Linked DNA regions of Homo sapiens: region 1 is linked to region 2. Evidence: promoter capture Hi-C in 16 types of primary human blood cells and fetal thymus (Javierre and others, 2016). All regions are on one chromosome and are shown on one strand. Each heading gives the region's core, a stretch centred on a gene start or on the middle of the fragment in contact. The rest is flanking DNA. Distances are from core to core; before and after follow the strand shown.

The links. The method cuts DNA at HindIII sites, captures the fragments that hold promoters and counts their contacts. A CHiCAGO score of 5 or more calls a contact.
Region 1: a fragment that was not itself captured here is called in contact with the fragment with the promoter of TUBG1 in region 2 in 1 of 17 cell types (endothelial precursors); the score reaches 5.0 in endothelial precursors.

Annotation. Positions count from the first base shown.
Region 1 is chr17:42,825,759-42,833,155 of GRCh38, reverse strand. No RefSeq gene overlaps it. Among named protein-coding and RNA genes, the nearest start is that of PSME3, 3.9 kb to the left of the region's middle. RefSeq lists an enhancer at 1-111. The HindIII fragment of the contact is 7,795 bases long and covers 217-7,397 here.
Region 2 is chr17:42,604,830-42,611,646 of GRCh38, reverse strand. It overlaps TUBG1 (tubulin gamma 1), which reads right to left and starts at 1,964. Exons shown (of 11, transcript NM_001070.5): 1 at 1,861-1,964; 2 at 1,427-1,539; 3 at 1,057-1,224. The coding sequence starts at 1,909. It overlaps RETREG3 (reticulophagy regulator family member 3), which reads left to right and starts at 2,273. Exons shown (of 9, transcript NM_178126.4): 1 at 2,273-2,561. The coding sequence starts at 2,323. RefSeq lists an enhancer at 2,282-2,391. The HindIII fragment of the contact is 4,939 bases long and covers 1-3,017 here.

The DNA.
Region 1 (7,397 bases), core at 2,865-5,364, 220 kb before region 2:
AGCCGCTGCACTCCCGGGGACAACGCCGTCGCGCCCCAGTGACGTAGGCTCGGGGAAGTCGGGGACCCGGGTACTGGGTTCGGGGGTGTAGTCCCTGATTCCCGCTGCCTCTGCCCGTTTGCCGAGGCTCAAGTGTTTAGGCTAGAGCGAAAAAGACAAGCGCCGTTGTACCAAGCTTTCCTGGTACATTTCCCTGCCAACTGATTCTCGTAAGCTTCCAGACCTCAAAGATCAACTACCTAATTGGCAAATTGATCCCCAGAGTAGGGTAGGGCTTGTCCAAGGCGTTTCCAGTACATCCTGAGCCAGAACCCAGATCTCCTAACTTCTACGGCAGTGCTGTATCTATTTGCCTAGTGGAAGCATGAGACTATACCTCTTCATGCACCCATTCATTCGATCTCTCTCTCTCGACATTGGATATATCATTCAATAAAATGGGGCAGGGCACTGTGTCAGATTCTAGAAATATGTGAGTCACATATGTAGGTTGAAATCTTCTAGTAGCCACAATTAAAAAGTAAAACAAGTGAAAATTTTAGTCATACATTTAACCCAGTTTATACAAGTATTTCAACATGTAATCAACATTTAAAAATCGAGATCTTATGCATTCTTTTCTCATACCAAGTCTTCAAAATCCAGTGCGTATTTTACACTTAACTGCACATCTCAATAAGGCAACACCACATTTGTAGTACAGTGCTCAGTAGCCACATGTGGCTGCTGGCTTCTGTATTGAAGAGCACAGCTCTGGGAAATCAAAGGCAAACAAGATTCAAGGTCGCTGGTCCCATGGGGCATAATATTGGAAAAACACCAGAAAGTAAACTGACAAGGTAACTGCAAAATTTGATAAATGTTAGGGAAAAAGTGGATGACATAGAAAATACGAGAGATCTATTTTAGATCGAATGGCCAAGGAAGGCCTCTGAACAGGCAAGCTGTGATCTAAAGGATATAAAGAGGTTAGCATGGAAAGAGTGAGAAGAGCCTTGAGAGGTATAAGGGCAGCTCAGGCAAATGCTCTAGGGAAGGAAAGAGATTGTCTTGAAGACAAAGACTAGTGAGCTGAGGGTGAGGAGGGTTGTTAGTAAACAATCTAGATTAAGTGCAAAAGGAGGTCATCAGATTTGTATTTTGGGGTCGCTCTTGCTGTTGAACATTTATCCTAGGCTGGCCTCTCTACTAAGTGCTAGGAAAATGAGGGGAATACACAATTAAATGGAGTAAAGCACAGAAGACTGACTATGGCCTTTGGGATCAGAGACCTGGGCTTCAAATCCCACCTCAGCTCCTTACTAACTGGAATCTTGGGCAAATTATTGAAATGCTGAGTCTCGATTCCCTCATCTGTAAGATGGAATTTTAATAATTAGTAATAAATAATAGTATGTAATTTTGTAGTGTTGTGAATATTAGAAATAATATATGTAAAACAATTAGCACAGTGCTTAGACACAAAATAAATAGTAGCCACTGTCAGGTAAGTAAGTGATCTGTTAATGCTTAGCATGAAGAGGTTACTCCTTAAATTACAGTAATTATTTCCATTCCTGCTTTCAAGCTCAAAGTCCTTTTCAGCTTATAGAAGGCCACATATAACATCATGCTCTATCAGTTTTCCCCCTTTTACATGTTTTCTGTTAACACATTTCCCTGGGAACTTTTGAGATCCGATTTGAAACTTCAGGAATTATTTCCCACATTTACTCCATTCTATTTTAAGTATGCCACTATTCTTATTCCAGTCAGAATTTATAACATCAACTGGAAAAGCTAATATGTTTGTGCCTGTTAAAATATGCTTTGTTCTCAAATAATTATGTTTTGTCTCCTTCAAGTAGGTTATAAGACAGATACACATTCTCTTTATTTCCCTTCCTCCTCCCCATCCAAGTGTTTAATATAATACTCCATTCATTTGTTTATTCAGTGAACAACTGGAGAGTACCACTACACTTAACAATAACTATTCATTTCTGGGTGCTTACAAGTCACATGTGATCACTGATGACTGGTCTAATTTTAAATTCATGTCCCAAAATCTCAAATGAGTGCACAACACTGCCTGAGCTCCTACTACATGCTCCTGACAAGTTTGCTCTCCCACCCTCCCAATGACTATCATACTTTCTCATCTCCCTGAACCTCCAGTATTCCTTCTCTCCCACCTCCAACTTATGGCCTGGGCTCATTCTTTATTGAGAAAACAGAAGCAGATGAGAACTACCTCATCATCTCACCACCAAATCTGCCAATCTGCAAAATACTTTCTGCCTTTCCTCTTTCATTGAAGGAAACAAACCTGTTCCTATCTCTTCCTTTTGTGCTTTGGATTCCATCCCCTTTGACTTTCTCAATCCCATGTCTGTGCCCATGATTAGCCCCTCTTTTTCCTACATCACATCCTCTGCTGGGTCATTTCCAGACATAACCAATATCCCCTATCTTGAGAAAACTCCCCCCCGAATCCAGATTCCTCTGTAGCTGTTACTCCCTTTCTGTGCTCTCCTTCCTGGCAAGACTTCTTGAATTATTTATTGTCTCTTACTCTACTTCCTCATGCCCCATTTACTCCAATCCACTCTAATCAGACTTCTCAACCCCACTTTCTCACTGATATAATTTTTGTTAGGTTACCAATGACTACCATGTTGACACCAGTGGTCACCTCTCATCTTATTTGAATCTCTCAGTAGTACTCAATATATTAGCCACTCCCCTTCTTAAAATACACACAGCAACCTGTTCTGATCTTTCTCCAGCCTCAACAGTGATTCCCCATTTCCTTTGCTGGCTCTTCCTCCTCTGCTCCACTTCTTAATGGTGGCATGCTTCAGGAGACTTAGGTCCTTTATTCTCTGCTTACACTTTCTCCCTAAGAGGATCTATGCATGTTCGGCCAGGCGCGGTGGCTCACGCCTGTAATCCCAGCACTTTGGGAGGCCGAGGCGGGTGGATCACGAGGTCAGGAGATAGAGACCATCCTGGCTAACACGGTGAAACCCCGTCTCTACCAAAAATACAAAAAATTAGCCGGGCGTGGTGGCGGGCGCCTGTAGTCCCAGCTACTCAGGAGGCTGAGGCAGGAGAATGGCGTGAACCTGGGAGGCAGAGCTTGCAGTGAGCTGAGATCGCGCCACTGCACTCCAGCCTGGGCGACAGAGCGAGACTCCGTCTCAAAAAAAAAAAAAAAAAAAAGAGGATCTATGCATGTTCATAGCTTTAAGTATCATCTGTATTCGGCCAGACACGCACGGGGGCTAATGCCTGTAATCCCAGCACTTTGAGAGGCCAAGGCAGGCAGATCACCTGAGGTTGGGAGTTCGAGACTAGCCTGAACATGGAGAAACCCCGTCTCTACTAAAAATACAAAATTAGCTGGGCGTGGTGGTACATGCCTGTAATCCCAGCTACTCGGGAGGCTGAGGCAGGAGAATCACTTGAACTGGGGAGGTGGAGGTTGCGGTGAGCCGAGATCGCGCCATTGCACTCCAGCCTGGGCAACAAGAGCGAAACTCCATCTCAAAAAAAAAAAAAAAAAAAAAAATCTGTATGCTGATTTGAGGGCCCCAGATTCGTATCTCCCATCTGACATCTTCACTGAGTTCTAACCATCTATTTGATGTTTCTACTTGGAAACCTAATGAGCATATCAAACTTAACATGGCCAAACCAGAATTCTTGATTCTCCCACACACCTGTTATTTTCCTATTCTTCTCCATCTCAGTAATTGACATAACTGTCCACCTAGTTGTTCAAACCAAAAACCTAACAGTCAACCTTGATTCCTCTCTTTTCCTCGTCTCTCCACATTCAACCCATCAGCAGGTCCTGTCAGCTTTCCCTGTATAATGCATCCTGTATGAGTGTGCTTTCCTCCATCTCTTGTTACCCTGGCCAAAGCCACTGTCATCCTTTGCTAGGACTATTACAATAGGCTCCTATCTGGTCTCTCCATTTCCACTCTTGCCACCCCCCACCAACTGTCACATTCTGTTCTTCACTCAGCACCAAAATTTATCATTGATTGATTGACTGACTGAGACAGGGTCTTGCTATGTTGTCCAAGTTGGTCTCGAACTCCTGGCTCAAGTGATCCTCCCGCCTCAGCCTCCTGAGGAGCTGGGATTACAGGTGCACACCAGGCCAGCTCAAAATAATCTGCTAATATGTCAGCCACAGAGATGGTAGCATCTACTCAAGCTGAATATACCTAAAGAGAGAGAGAGAAAGAGAAAGAGAGAGAGAGAGATCCCAGAAACCTCAACTCTAGGGACCCACCCAAGAGAAATGCATAAATATATTCACCAAAAGACATGAACAAGAATGTTCATAGCAACACTATTCACAATAGACCAAACTGGAAACTACCCAGATGCCTCTTAACAGCAAGAGAGATATCTATATTTTAATATAGTCACACAATGGAATACTACAAAGTATTGAGAATGTATGAACTAAAACTACACAAGGTGGGTGAATCTCATGATGAGCGAAAGGAAACAAGAGTATGTCATGTATGATTCCATTTACATGAAATTCAAAAAACAGTCAAAACTCAATCTAGGGTGTTAGAATTGACAATATTGTTTGCCCTTAGGGTGGGCATCAATTAGAGGGTGGCATGGGAGAGGGAGTTGGGTACTGGTTACATTGACGTGTTCATTTTGTAAAAATTCATTGAAAATACATGTATGATTTGTGTCTTTTCCCCTATGTATTCTATCCCCCCGTAAATAGTTTCTTTTTAAGTCAGCCAGTCAAGTCTCTTCCCTACTTACCACCCTCAGTGGTTTCCAGATAACATAGGCCTTCCTGAATCCCCCAGTTGAAGCAGCTCCTCCCACCCTGCCCCCACTTACTCTCTATCACATCACCTTCTTACCTACTGTATTAGCTTTCTAGGGCTGCTGTAGCAAAGTACCACAAAGTGGATGGCTTAGAACCAAAGAAATATATTGTCTCAGAGTTCTGGATGCCAGAAATCCAAAATTAAGGTGTCAGCAGGACCATGTTCCTTCTAAGGGAGCCAGAGAAGTATCTGTTCCAGACCTCTTTCCTGGCTTTTGGTAGCCTCAGGTCTTCCTTGGCTTACAGATCACCCTGTGTCTCTTTACATCATCTTCCCTCAGACACGGTACATGTCTGTCTCTGTGTCCAGATTGCCCCTATTTATAAGGACGCAGTCATATTGGTCTAGGGCTAACATCAATGACCTCATCTGCAACGATCCTATTTCCAAAAAAGGTCACATTCCCATGTGTTAGTCCCAGATGTTAGGACTTCAACATCTTTTGGGGGACATCATTCAACCCATAATATCTGCCATTATCTGAAATTATCTTATTAACTTGGTTACATGTTTACTGTCAAATTCTCTCCTCTGGAATATAAACTATTAGAGCAGTTCACCAGTATATCCTCTCAGACCTAGAATAGGGACTGGCACATAGTAGATGCTCAATAAACATCTGTTGAATCGATGACTGAGGATATGTTGTGTATTATTCACAATCCCTCAAGCACTACATACACTGATTACATATACTTCCCAAGTGTGAGGATACACAGAGCATTCACTATGTAACAGTCATTCCCCTCCATTCCAAATGTATCAGCTCATTTATCACACTACCCTTTATGATATTTACTACTGTATACTATTAATCTCATTTTGTAAATAAGAAAACAAAGCACAGAACAGTTGAATAAATTGCATAAGGTCACATGGTTAGTGGATGGTAAAGAACCAGGTGGTCTCAACTTCCAAATCCTCAGTTGTAACACTATACCCCCTACCTCTCTAGAAGCCCGTTACTTCTCTATGCGTTTCTGAGATGTTAGGGACAGCCAAGCAGGAAGAAACGCAGGACTATGAAGCAGCCACACCAGGACTAGGTGAGAATTCTTTGGGGATGATTCCAGTCACCTCCCCTAAAGGGGCTTTCATGCTGAAAGAGCCAAGAGGAAGAAGGATTGTAAACACTATCCCTAGTCACAAAACCGGGAGAAAAATCAATCTAGTTCCACATATCACATCCAATACCAACTATAAGAAACCACATACATTTAAAAGAAAAGAAAGACACTTCTGGAGGTGGGAATAACTTTCTAAGCAGTATAAGTCATCAAGAAAAATAAGCAGATTTGACTTGAAAATTTAAAACTTCCTGAACATCTGGAAAATAATTAAAGCATTCATGAAAAATTACTAAAAATACTGAGAAAAATACTAATAATCCAATACCTAAATAATCAAAGAATGCAAACATAATTCAGAAAAAAGTAACTACTGCTTGAGCCCGGGAGGCGGAGATTCCAGTGAGCTGATATTGCACCACTGCACTCCAGCCTGGGTGACAGAGTGAGACCGTGTCTCTTTTTTTTTTTTTTTTTAAAAAAAGGCCGGGCATGGTGGCTCACACCTGTAATCCCAGCACTTTGGGAGGCCAAGGCGGGCAGATCAGGAGGTCAGGAGATTGAGACCATCCTGGCTAACATGGTGAAACCGTCTCCACTAAAAATATAAAAAATTAGCCGGGTGTAGTGGTGGGCGCCTGTAGTCCCAGCTACTCGGGAGGCTGAGACAGGAGAATGGCGTGAACCCAGGAGGCAGAGGTTGCAGTGAGCCGAGATGGCACCACTGCACTCCAGCCTGGGCAACAGAGCAAGACTCCATCTCAAAAAAAAAAAAAAAAGTAACTACAATAAGCAAATACATAGCAAAAAGTTCAGCCTTACCAGCAATCAATGATGCTAATTAAAATAACAAGGAAGTGCCATTTTTTGCTTTTGTTCCCCAAATATATGATACCCAATACTGGCCAAGGCAATATGAAAACAGGCTTCCTCATACATTACTGGAAGCAGAATATAGTTATGTGCAAGCACTTTGGAAAATGATTCCCAGTGTTAAGGAAGAGACATTAAATAGCTGACACACTCTTAATTCTGTAGTCCCAGTTATGAGTCTCTATCATAAGTAGCCAGCTCTTCATTGCAGGATTATTGTAATCACCCACAGGGGAAATAGTAGAATTTCCAGCGGTAAAAAAATACACTAAGGCAGTACATTTAGTGTAGTGTAATGTAGCCATGATAACTACAATAACTGTGTAGCAACATAGAAAAATGTTAAATTTAAAAAGCAGAAGCCTGGGCAACAAAGTGAGACCCCATCTCTTTTTTTTTTTGAGATGGCGTCTCGCTCTGTCACCGAGGCTGGAGTGCAGTGTGAGACCACATCTCTACAAAAAATTTTAAAAATTAGCTGGGCATGGTAGTGATCACCTGTGGTCCCTGCTACACTGGAGGTTGAAGCAAGAGGATTGCTTGAGCCAGGAAGTCAAATCTGCAGTGAGCCATGTTTGTTTGTTCCGCTTCACTCCAG
Region 2 (6,817 bases), core at 715-3,214:
TGACCTCAGGTGATCTGCCTGCCTTGGCCTCCCAAAGTGCTAGGATTACAGGCGTGAGCCACCACGCCTGGCCCATTAACTCTACTTCTATGTAGCTCTGGGCAGCTTATTTAATTGCTCTATGCCTCAGTTTCCTCATCTGTACAATGAAGGTAATAATACAGGTCCATATACCCTTATCTAACAGTGTTGGGGCCAGTTATGTTTTGGAATTCAAAATATTTCAGATTTTAGAAAGGTATTATGGTATATATACTATATATTAAATAAAATTCCAGTGGGAATTTTTATTTAATCAGAAGCACGTTAATCAAATATATTAGTATTTCTGTAATAAAAGGCATCACTAATGACAGTAAGTTGGATAGAAACTATAGGGCCGGGCATGGCGGTTCACGCCTGCAATCCCAGCACTTTGGGAGGCCGAGGCAGGTGGATCACGAGGTCAGGAGATCAAGACCACCCTGGCTAACACAGTAAAACCCCGTCTCTACTAAAAATACAAAAATTAGCCAGGCGTGATGGCAAGCACCTGTAATCCCAGCTACTCGGGAGGCTGAGGCAGGAGAATCGCTTGAACCCGGGCAGCAGAGGTTGCAGTGAGCTGAGAGCGTGCCACTGCACTCCAGCCTGGGCGACAGAGTGAGACTCCGTCTCAAAAAAAATAAATAAATAAAAATTAAAAAAAAGAAACTATAAAACAGCCTGTCTTCATTGAAATTTGTTTTTGCTGATAAACTAGTTATGAAATGTCCTTTGGTTTCATGGCTTTCTGGATCCTGGAAAGGCAGATAAGGGACTGTGGACCTGTAGTACTTACTTCTAGGGTTGTTGGGAGATTTAGAAAAATTAATATATGTAAAGCACTTAGAATGACCTGGCACACTGCATTAGCTAGTGTAGGCGCTTGACAATATTACATAGTCCACTCCCTGCAGCCAGGTCTCTCCCTCCAGCATTCATACATCCCTGATCCGGTTTTCCCTCTCTTCGGGACGTCATAGAGCCTGTCCCTACCCAGCGAGTTGTGGGCCCTGCCAGGGAATAGGAAACGACCTGGGAGAATCCGCTGGCCCAGTTGTTGCCAGCTCCTCCTCCATGTTCCGACAGGTAGATGTTCTCTGGGTTGTAGAGCTTGGCATAGGGGGAGTTGAGGATGGAGTGGATCACCCGGGGTTCCAAGTCCAGCAGCACGGCCCGGGGGATGTAGTGCTCATCGTCTGCCTGTCAAGGGGAGTCCAGGAGGGGGCCCAATCAGCTAGGGCGGCCCAAGTCCGAAGTCCTCCCAACTCTGGCTCCCTCCGGCCCTCCCTCCTCAAGCCAGCCGCCTGGCCCTACTGCCCAGCGGGGTTCCCAGTACCAGGCCACTCCCTTCCCTTCCGCCCCCTTGGGCAACTGCCGCCCCCGGCCAAGTCGCTGGGGGCACCTGGTAGAAAAAGACGTCCTTGCGGTCAGTGCCCTCGGTGGCGAACTCCTCCACGATGCCCTCGGGGCTGATACCATGCTCGGCGCACAGCTGTTTCCAGAACTCGAACCCAACTGGGGGGAAGGGGCGGGCAGGGGAGAAAGAAGATATCTAGGTCCGGGCAGGTTCCAATCAGGAGCCGGGGGACTGGGCGCCTGCGTCCAGGGATAAGAAGTCAAGCCGCAGGACTCTCCCGTGTCTGAGGAAAGGACTGTACGCCAGGGACTGGGCAGGGGAGGGCCCCTCGGGGTTGGGCAAGTGGACACTGGGTCAGGGATGTCTCGCCTTTCAGAGAACTACGATTCTGGCAAGGACAGATGGAGTCCAGGATCCCACAGCGAGATCCCATTGACCCTAAGGAACCTGGCTAGCTGAGGGGCCGGAGTTTCGCTCACTCTGATTGCCGCACTGGCCCAACTGTAGGGTGATGATTTCCCTCGGCATCGCTCCTCAGGCACCGGCGTTGCAGCCGCTCCCGCCCGCAACGGCGCCGCACGCCAGCCCGCTCGCCGCAAGACGCAGGCGCCAAACAACCAGCTCCACCCACGAACTTCCTCCGCTCCAATGAGAATCGAGTTCTGGCAATGAATGGCACGTCTTTAAGCACTGGCCTTCGTTCATGCAGATTGCGCGTGCGCGGCTCCGGATGCGGCTCGGCGCCTCCGGATCCGGCTCCGCGCCTCAGTGAGGGCGGGGTACGGCGTCCTCCCTCCCCTCTGGGTGGGCGCCTGCTTGGGCCTGCGCGCAAGCGCGCTGTGGTGCGAAGCCACCTCCCCCGCCGAATCGCGCATCTGCGCAGTTGCTGTTATTGTGACTTGTCGGGCCACGGCCCCGGATGTTGTGGCTGCCGCGGGGAGATGGCTGAGGCCGAAGGGGTTCCCACGACCCCAGGCCCGGCTTCGGGGTCGACTTTCAGGGGCCGCCGAGATGTGTCAGGCTCCTGGGAGCGGGACCAGCAGGTTGAGGCGGCGCAGCGGGCCCTGGTGGAGGTGCTGGGGCCTTACGAGCCTCTGCTGAGTCGGGTGCAGGCAGCCCTGGTGTGGGAGCGGCCAGCTAGGAGCGCTCTGTGGTGCCTGGGGCTGAACGCGGCTTTCTGGTGAGAGAACTGGACCCTCGGAAACCCTCCGAGTCCCGAATTCGTTGGTTCCTCTAGGGCTCTACTTCTCGCCTGCCCTGTTTTCTTCGCTGCACTGGCTCCTTCCTGTACTTGCCTAATTTTGCCTCACCTCCTTCCACTCCATCCCGCCTGCAGGCTTCGGCACCCTAGTTCTTCCCAGGGCCGTCCACCCATCTTCTCTGCCTTACCTGTGCCCGCACCCCCGCCCCGCACATCTGGCGGGAGCTTCTGGTAACATCTTGAGCCGCTCAAGAGTGAGCGAGGGCTCCTCTTTTGAGCCCGACAAAGCTGCGTCCCTTTAAAGCCATCACTTCCTTTCTCTTGTCTGCTCAAGTGCAAGTTCTAGATTGTTTCCAGAGGTTTTAGTAGTTTATTGTTGGAGTAGAGGCGTGAAGTCTTGCAAAGGTATCCATAGGTGTGATTATAAAACAAGCTTGAGCGATTCGCATGAATTAGCATGTTATATATCTAGGAAGGAAGTTTATGAAGTCTAAGCGTCAGTGTGAGCCCCCAAAGCTGAAAATTGAAAGAAAATTACAAGCTTTTAAAGAACAGTTAGGAAATGATGACGGAGATTACACGCGTGTCAAAGCCACCTGTGATTGTAACTCCTCCCTGTTCCAAGGAATTAGAGAGGCATCCTTAGCCATGGTTTATAGGCAAGGAAATTGATGTCTAATACTGTGTGTGAGTTTTCCTGAGCTGGAAAAGTAGCACTGTAAATATGCTTTATTTGTGTGTGTCATGCTCTGTGAAAATGGAACTGCTGCTTCTCTCAGTTGTCATCACCTGAAGTGGACCTAGGACTTCATAGGATCTACCAACCATAATTTTGGATTTATTTGTAATGGAGGAGGTTCCAAGGGAACTGACTTATAGGGGGCTTTCTGCTGCTGAATGGATTAAGACTATTCTGGATAAGCCTGAAACAACAAAATATGTGTGTTTTTTAATTGTGTTTTTGCTAAAAATAGCTTTCCCCTTAAAATTTGTTTTAAAATCAAAACATTTATTATCCTTTATCTGAAAGATTTTCAGTGAGCTGAAGCAGAACAAATAATTCCAAGTTCATTGACCCGAAAACAGTGTTCAGCTATTAAGCTAATCCTCTCCCAGTTTGAAAGAGACCCAGTTAAAGGTGTCACAGTAGTCTCTGGCATTTGTGGCTTCCAGAGCCTTTAGCAAACTCGATGGTAAACTTTTCCTACCACGTTCTTCATTTATTTTTGGTAGTGCTTTTTCCCTTTTTTTTTTTTTTAAGACAGAGTTTCACTCTTATTGCCCAGGCTGGAGTGCAATGGCGTGATCTCGGCTCACTGCAACCTCCGCCTCCCAGATTCAAGCATTTCTCCTGCCTCAGCCCCCCAAGTAGCTGGGATTACAGGCATGAACCACCACAACCGGCTAATTTTGTATTTTTTTAGTAGAGATGGGGTTTCTCCATGTTGGTCAGGCTGGTCTCGAACTCCCGAGGTCAGGTGATCTGCCTGCCTCGGCCTCCCAAAGTGCTGGGATTACAGGCGTGAGCCACTGCGCCTGGCCTTTTTTTTTTTTTTTTTTTTTTTGAGACAAGGTCTTGCTCTATCACCCAGGCTGGAGTGCAGTGGTATGATCTCGGCTCATTGCAACTTCCACTTCCTGGGCTCAAGCAATCTTCCCACCTCAGCCTCCACAATAGCTGGGACCAGAGGTGCACATCATCATGCTTGGCTAATTTTTTAAATTTTTTGTGGAGACAGGGTCTCACTATATTGCCCAGGCTGGTCTCGAACTCCTAGGCTCTGGTGATCCTCCTGCCTTGGGCTCCCAGAGTGCTGGGATTATAGGCATGAGCCACCGTGCCCAGCCAAGTGCTTCTTCCTTGACCCCTAGGTACTGATTCCCATTGCTCTCTGTAGAAATCTTCACTATAGCACCTCACTGAAGAGTGTTTTATCCAGTCAAAACATTTCCCACAGTGGTTTTGGTATCTCTAGCAAGAAGGCTGGGCCTCATTAAACCAATTTGTATCAAAGTATGACTGCCTGATGGAAAAAAACACTTTATCAGGGTTTACTTATTTTTGTTTTGAGACAGTTTGGCTCTTGTTGCCCAGGCTGGAGTGCAATGGCACGATCTCAGCTCACTACAACCTCCTCCTCCCAGGTTCAAGCGATTCTCCTGCCTCAGCCTCCCGAGCAGCTGGGATTACAGGCATGCGCCACCAATGCCTGGCTAATTTTTGTATTTTTTTGTAGAGACAGTTTTGCCAGGTTGCCCAGGCTCGTCTCAAACTCCTGACCTCAAAGCAATCCACCTGTCTCAGCCTCCCGATGTGCTGGGATTACAGGTGTGAGCCACTGCACTGTACCGGGCCTTAAATGGATTTTTAAACCAAAGATTTATGAATGCAAATGAATTAGTAGCATGTATGCTGTTCTTTTTGAGGAGGGGACCTTTTTTTTTTAATTAATTTTTGTTTTTTGAGATGGAGTCTCGCTCTGTCGCCCAGGCTGGAGTGCAGTGGCGCCATCTCGGCCCACTGCAAGCTCTGCCTCCCGGGTTCACGCCATTCTCCTGACTCAGTCTCCCGAGTAGCTAGGATTGCAGGCACGCGCCACCACGCCCGGCTAATTTTTTGTATTTTTTTTTAGTAGAGACGGGATTTCACCGTGTTAGCCAGGATGGTCTCAATCTCCTGACCTCGTGATCTGCGAGGAGGGGACCTTTCTTCTGCCGCTTGTCTGAGAGAGGTTTCTGAAGCAGAATGTGAGGTTGAGGTCTGCACATAAAGAGCTGCTGTGACTGGGACATATCTTTAGATGTTACAGCTAGCTTTAATTTGCTGGCCTCTACCAGTGTTTACTTAAGCTTATTAACATGCTATGTTTAGAGGCTCACTTAGAACCCCTTTTGTACTCTGGGTCTCTTAAAGCATTGCTGTGATTGGTCTTTATCTTTGGCATTTCCTAGTAGCTTGTCTGTTGTGTATCCAGAACACAGTTACTCTTGTTACAGTCCCATCACATTTTAAGAAGGTGCAGGAGAGAGACAACAAAATGAGGATGTGACTTTTTTTTTTTTTTTTTTTTTTTGAGATGGAGTCTCGCTCTGTCACCCAGGCTGGGGTGCAATGGCGTGATCTTGGCTCACTGCAACTTCCACCTCCTAAGTTCAAGCGATTCTCCCACCCCAGCCTCCCGAGTAGCTGGGATTACAGGCACCCACCATCACGTCTGGCTAATTTTTGTATTTTTGTAGGGCAGAGTTTCACCATGTTGGCCAGGCTGGTCTTGAACTCCTGACCTCAGGTGATCCACCCACCTCGGTCTCCCAAAGTGCTGGGATTACAGGTGTGAGCCACTGTCCCTGGCCGACAATGTGACTCTTGAGACTAAAAGAACAGTTGGGTATGCCATTTCTGGAGAGGACTCCTACATGTGAAAGGCACAGATACTGTTAAGTCCCCAGAAACTTGGATAGTCTGGCATTGGAGTTCACAGAATTGTTTGGGGAAATGAGCTTCCTTGGTAGGTAATTAGAGATTTAAAATGAAATTTGGGCTTCACATTCTAGTAGTGTCATATTGAGTATGAGTGTTGACATTTCGCTTAGAAATGTGGAAGAGTGACTGACTGTTCAGTTAACAAACATTTTAAATGTTTAAGAAAGGGAGGAGGATCATTAGCTCAAGTCAGAAAAATCAAATCTGAAATATTTAGTTTCTCTTTTATTGTATTGAATAATGGGACAAAAATGACATATCATTAACTGAGATTTTTATGCATTTTGAGGTATTAGGAGATAGGAGTACAAAAAAAAACCCATCAGAATTCAGGTAGGTAGCTCTTAATTTTCAGTGTTTTGTATCCTCAGTCATATTTTGCCGTAACTGTGAATATGCCCTCTTACATCTTAAAAAAAAAAAAAAAAGATGGAGATAGATGTAGATACCTTGTCACCATAGTATTCCAAGGTTTTCATACTTTTTTTTTTTTCAGGTACCAGAGAATTTATGGTGGCCATATCAGAGGTCTTCCAGCCTAGATTACTTCTGGTCACTGATCTGTTATTGTCTCTAGCATAATAATAGAAATGTCAGGCCGTTCCTTCCAATAGCTTGTGTTTTCATTAGTCTCAACCTCATCTGTGAATGAGTGATTTGGGGGAAGAATGTGAGAGTCAACAAGCATGTATCCTGACAGGATCAGAAAAGAACAGGTTTGGGTAACTTTTTGGTTTGACTTGTACTCTGA